Linked DNA regions of Homo sapiens: region 2 is linked to region 1. The links are contacts of gene promoters, found by promoter capture Hi-C in human tissues and cell types (Jung and others, 2019). All regions are on one chromosome and are shown on one strand. Each heading gives the region's core, a stretch centred on a gene start or on the middle of the fragment in contact. The rest is flanking DNA. Distances are from core to core; before and after follow the strand shown. Region 1 holds the start of CBL (Cbl proto-oncogene). Region 2 has its middle 8.4 kb from the start of UPK2.

Evidence for each region. The method cuts DNA at HindIII sites, captures the fragments that hold promoters and counts their contacts. A contact is called where the count stands out against the background at its distance.
Region 2: a contact is called between a fragment that was not itself captured here and the fragment with the promoter of CBL in region 1, in 2 of the 25 tissues and cell types used here (liver and spleen).

The regions. Positions count from the first base shown.
Region 1 is chr11:119,204,883-119,207,885 of GRCh38, reverse strand. CBL (Cbl proto-oncogene) reads right to left here and starts at 1,547. Exons shown (of 16, transcript NM_005188.4): 1 at 1,274-1,547. The coding sequence starts at 1,468. RefSeq lists silencers at 1,030-1,089, 1,280-1,469, 1,540-1,929, 1,970-2,039. The HindIII fragment of the contact is 26,271 bases long and covers 1-3,003 here.
Region 2 is chr11:118,946,407-118,949,409 of GRCh38, reverse strand. No RefSeq gene overlaps it. Among named protein-coding and RNA genes, the nearest start is that of UPK2, 8.4 kb to the left of the region's middle. The HindIII fragment of the contact is 7,281 bases long and covers 1-3,003 here.

The DNA.
Region 1 (3,003 bases), core at 298-2,797:
AGCGGTTTCTAGTCCAAAGCAACCCATGAAGAACTTTACAGAAGAGGAACCGAGGCCCAGGGAGGAACCAAAGAAAACCAAATTTTACCCTGGAGGAAATAACACCATTCTCTTAAAACGTGCCAGATACTTCTAATCACTTTTCATACGCAATATGAATTTTGTCAAAGTAATTAATTAAAGAATATGAAAAATACCAAGAAAACGTATTGAATTCTGACAAAGCGTCCGACTGCTTAAACAGTTAAATACTTGAGACTGACTACATTTCATCATATAGACACAACTATAAGGAAGTAAAATTCTCCCAAATGACAAACTTAGTGGCTAAATATAAAGGAGTTATTTTTGTTCGCACTTGCAAAAAGCAAACAAACAAAAAAGCGTAATCAAAGAAGCTCAACGAACAAGTTTAAAGTCAGGACCTGTAATAAGGAGTCAGAACCGTTACCAGAAAAAAAGAACCCAGCTCAAGCGATGTAGTAGGGAGGAAGTTATTAAGAAGTCAGAATCTGCTGCTGCTTAACAGGCTCAGCCAGTCCATCTTTCAGAAGATAATAGTTCTAACCAGAACTTGTGGTTTAATCAGTGCATATCTCAGCACCAGCAATGGATCACATCCAGTGTTTCTGAGGGTAACAAAAAACTTGAGCCGGCGCTAGATGGGGAGGAAAGTTCTTTCCTTGCCTCACTTAAACATCAATATGTCTTTTATCTTCGTGTTACATCTTAATGAGAAAGGACTATACTCTCACCCAGAGCACAGCTTCCCTGAGAGCTGTCCTGACCCCAGCCAGGTTCCTCAGTCAGAGCCCATGAACCTAATTCCCTAGTCAGATCTCACCCAGCCAAGAGCCCCAGCCGGTACATCACTCTTCCTCACCCCCTCCCTGCTAACCTCCCAGGCCAATTCCGTGACCTACATCCCTACACCCTGCACAGAGCCCCAAACTCCGCACCCCTCATTGTACTTCCGCCCCACTGACTTCCCAGTTAACCTTCGCCCCAGCCCCCACTCCATCTTTGTCTGGCTACCCCAAACGCGGCACCCCAGCGTTCCCCGACTCCCAACGGCAGCCCCTCCCCCACGCCGCCCCCCACCCTCCCGGCCTCGTCCCTGCCCCCACGCCCCCGGCCGGTCACCCCGGCTCCGCGCCTCCCCGGCTTCACCAGACCCGTCCCCTCCCCCGCTTCCTCCGTCCGCTCGTTCCCCTCCCCGCGGCCCTCCGCCCACGCCCACCCTGCAACAGCGGGCGCTCAGCCGGCCTTTCACCTTGTCCATGAGCTTCCAGCACTTCTCCACCATCTTCTTGTCCACCGTCCCCGGCGGGTGGGGGCTGAGGTGGTGGTGGTGGTGGTGGTGCGGCTGGAAGGCGTCCTTCATGAGCCCAATCAGGCCACCCGAACCCGAGCCCCCGGAGCCGCTGCCGCCCCCGGCCCCAGAGCTCTTCTTCACGTTGCCGGCCATGGCCTGGGCAGGGTCGGAGCCCAGGCGGGTCCGCCGGCTCGGCTCGACTGCGAGCGAGGGAGAGAAGCAGGGCGTGAAGGAGGGGCCTCTCCCGGCCGCCGCCGCCGCCGCCGCCGCCGCCGCCGCCGGCTATCCGGGCGGAGGGAGGAGCGGCCGTGGGGAGGGGAGTGGGCGGCGCCGGGAGTGCGCGGGACGCGCCCCTTCAGAGCGCGCGAGCCCGGGGCGGGCGGGGCGCGTCCCGGAGGCGGACCGGCTTACTGGTAAGCTCGGGGAAGCGGCCGGCCGCGGCCGGACTGGGCAGCGACGATCCCCGGGCCACCGGCTTCGAGCAGCTCGCGTGCCCACAGCTCCCGGAAAGCCGCGGCCAGGTTTCTGTGCCCGTCTTCCCCGCCCCTACGCCGGGGCGGGGCGGGGCCAGGCTGGGGCGGGGTCGGCGGAACCTTTGGGCCTGCGCCCTCTGCTGGAGAAACGGGGAAAGGAGCGGCGGGGGGTTGGGGAGTAGGTCCAAGGTGGAGTCTGCGCAGTAGCCAGAAACCAAGACTTCCATGCTCCTTGTGGGCGGGAGGTTGGCGCTTCTGGGGTGGGTCATGGGAATGTTTAAATTAAGACAGGTGGCGATGGAATGGAAGAGTCCTGATGTCAAGTCTTTCCCCACCCCTGACAAATGAGGAAATCGAGCTTAGAGTTATTTGTTTATTTACACTGTGGGAGGATGGTGGGAGAAAAAGGAAAGTTATTTCTCCACCCCTTATTATTTTCAATTCTTCATTAAGACACGACCAAGGACAGGAATATGAATGCTGCGGCCCATTCCAGCCGGATTAGGCCCCAGAAAGCCTTGAGACACTCAAGCCAGGACCTCTTCTTCCAGGCCCTTTGACCTCTTGAAAAGAAATCACTTCCTTTTTTTATTTTTTATTTTTATTTTTTTGGCTTGTGAAGACTAGTTACGTTTCTGGGAATTGAATCTCAAACATGTATTTAAGATTCTCCTACTCAGAGCATTGCACCACAGGTCGGCGCCGCCAGCATGAGGGCCCCCTCAGAAGCTGACCTGCTGCTGGCTCCGCCCGAGGGGGTTCTCTCTCCCGCCCAGGGAACAGAAATGCTGTTCCTGGTCACTTCCACTTCTCAGTCAATTACACTTCTCTAATGTAAAAGTTCCGTTGGAAGAACTTTGAAAATAGGAACTTCCCTTCCAAAGAGGGAAGTGCCCTGCCCTAATTTACTAATTCTGAGCCTCAGTTTTGGGAGTTTGCAGACCCAGGTGTGTCAGTATCAGTTCCGCCTTCGATCCCCCTCCAGGCTCTTCCACAAAGCCCTTGACAGATTAGGGAGTTAAATTTATCCGGTGCTCCTGTAAAGGGGAAAATATCTTTGAATGCAGGGACCATTCAGACAGGCATCCTGGGTTTGCAATTTAATCGCCTTTATCTAGAATTGATTTTGGAGTCAACATTATAATTTACTATCAGAAGAATTTCCTTTTATCATTTTCCATCCAGGAAGAGAAGAATCTACAAAGGGAAAATCTA
Region 2 (3,003 bases), core at 298-2,797, 260 kb after region 1:
ACATGGATGAAGCTGGAAACCATCATTCTGAGCAAACTATCACAAGGACAGAAAACCAAACACCACATGTTCTCACTCATAGGTGGGAATTGAACAATGAGAACACTTGGACACAGGGCAGGGAACATCACATATAAGGGCCTGTCATGGGGTAGGGGGCAGGGGGAGGGATAGCATTAGGAGAAATACCTAATGTAAATGAACCTAATGAGTTAATGGGTGCAGCAAACCAACATGGCACATGTATACGTATGTAATAAACCTGCACGTTGTGCACAACTACCCTAGAACTTAAAGTATAATAATAAAATTAAATAAATAAAATTTAAAAACCTGTCTCGTTTGGATATTGTGACTCTCCCTAAGGCAATTTTTTTTTTTTTTTTTTTGGAAATGGATTTTGGCTCTGACGCCCAGGCTGGAATGCACTGGCATGACTCGGCTCACTGCAGCCTCTGCCTCCCAGGTTCAAGGAATTCTCCCACCTCAGCCTCTTGAGTATCTGGGATTACAGGCACATGCCACCACGCCCAGCTAGTTTTTTGTATTTTTAGTAGAGACAGGGTTTTGCCACGTTGGCCAGGCTGGTTTTGAACTCCTGGCCTCAAGTGATCTGCCTGCCTCAGCCTCCCAAAGTACTGGGATTACAGGCATGAGCCAATGTGCCCGGCCCCTCAAGCGAATTTATTTATGAGTGCCTAGCACAGTATCTGGCTCAATAAACATTAATGTAAGTAATTCACTTTATCTTTTTATTAACCTTCATTGCAGAAGAAGACTAGAGACAATAAATGACTTTCCCAAGGTCACAGGGAATGAAGTTGGATATGATTCACAATTTGTTTTTCCAGCTGTGTTACTGATGCAGAGGGAGCTATTTGGACAGGGAAAGGTAGTCCGAGGGGGAAAGTGACTGAGCTGTGGACCTGCTCTTCCTGTGTGCCAAGCATGCCACAGGGGTGCCAGGCACACAAGAACTGCCCGGTCATTTGTTCACTCATCACACATTTGTTGAGCAATTCCTCTATGGTGGGTACTGTATTAGGGTCTGAGATACAGAGAGGACAAGACACAGTTTCTGCTCTCAAAACTTGCTGGGCTTTGAAGAATGAATCAGAGTTAGCCTGGTTGAGATAAGTGGAAGGGCATATTCCAAAAAGAGGGAGCGGCCTATGAAAAAGCTTAGGGATGTGAATTATGCTGACACCCTCTGGGAACTGCAAACAATACATCTTGGCTGGAGAGAAGTATTCAAAGATGGGCATGGTGGGAGCTACAGCCACTGGCTTTGTATCCCACGCTAAGGAGCGTGTTTCTTAGCAAGCCTTAGAGGAGTTTAAAATGTGTAAAGATCATTCTGGCAACAGTGTGGAGAATGGATTGGCAGCAGGTAAGACATAAAGCAGGGAAACTAAGTGAGAAACAAAATGATCCAGGTGAAAAAGTTCATGGCCAAGCAATGAACATGGGAGTGGAGAGAAGCAGACAGACTGCAGTGATTTTAGGGAAAGATTGACTGGAATCAGTGACTGACTGCAGAGTAATTTTAGGATGGAAGAATCAAGAACAATTTCCAGATGTATGGCTTGGAGCAGATTTGAAGGGAGGACTGGGGAGAAGGAAGTTCATTTGTGGGCTGGGCACAGTGGCTCACACCTGTAATCCCAGCACTTTGGGAGGCAGAGGCGGGTGGATCACTTGAGGTCAGGAGTTCCAGACCAGCCTGACCAAGATGGTGAAACCTCGTCTCTACTAAAAATACAAAAATTAGCCAGGCATGCTGGCACGTGCCTGTAATCCCAGCTACTTGAGAGGCTGAGGCAGGAGAATTGCTTGAACCTGGGAGGCGGAGGTTGCAGTGAGCAGAGATCGCGCCACTGCACTCCAGCCTGGGCAAAGAAGCGAGACTCCATCTCAAAATAATAATAATAATAATAATAATAAATAAAAAGAAAAAGAAAAAAAATAAAGTTCACTTGTGGATCTGATAAGTCTGAGGTATTGTGGCTGCCAGCTTCCCACATGGCTCTGAATGATCCCTGCTTCCTTGTATTCGTGTCCTCATATGGTTCCCTCCCACATCACATCAGGATTGGTTTGTGTGGCCAATAAATACAACAGAAGTGATGACACATCACTTCTGAGGCTAGGTAGGGTGCCTTCCTCCTCATCCTCTCTTGGGGTGCTCACTCTGGAGGATGTTGGAGCTCCTCTGTGGGGAGGTCTGTGTGGCAAGGGACTGAGACCTCCTGCCAAAGACCTATGAGGTTGTGAGACTTCCAGGCAGTAGGTATGGGAATGAGCAAGATTGGAGACCGATTCCTTCAGCCCAGTCAAGTCTTCAGATGACTGTGGCCCAGGTTGATATCTTCACTGCAGCTTCCCAAAACACTCTGAGCCCAAACCACCCAGGTAGGTCTCTCCCAAACTCCTGACTCTCAGGATAAATTCTTTTTTTTTTTTTTTGAGACAGAATCTCGCTCTGTTGCCCAGGCTGGAGTGCAGTGGTATAGTCTTGGCTCACTGCAACCTCCACCTCCTGGGTTCAAGTGATTCTCCTGCCTCAGCCTCCCAAGTAGCTGGGATTACAGGCACCCACCAACACACCTGGCTAATTTTGTGTTTTTGATAGAGACAGGTTTCACCATGTTGGTCAGGCTGGTCTCAAACTCCTGACCTCAAGTGATCTGTCTGCCTCAGCCTCCCAAAGTGCTGGGATTACAGGCATGAGCCACCGCACCTGGCCAAATGTTTATTTTTATAAGCCACTAGATTTGGGGGATAATTTACTATACAGTAAAAAATAATGAATACAAATATCTTGGGCAACTCAACATTGAGCATAGGATTCTGGAACATGGAGGAGAGGTGTGGGATGCAGACAGGGGAGGTGGCACTGGTTAAAATCATGCCTGTGGAAGAGAGTCCTTGAGGGGAGCAGTGGAAGGAGAGTGGGAGAAGGCAGCCAAGGACAGAATTCTGGGAAATAAAGCATTTAAAGGA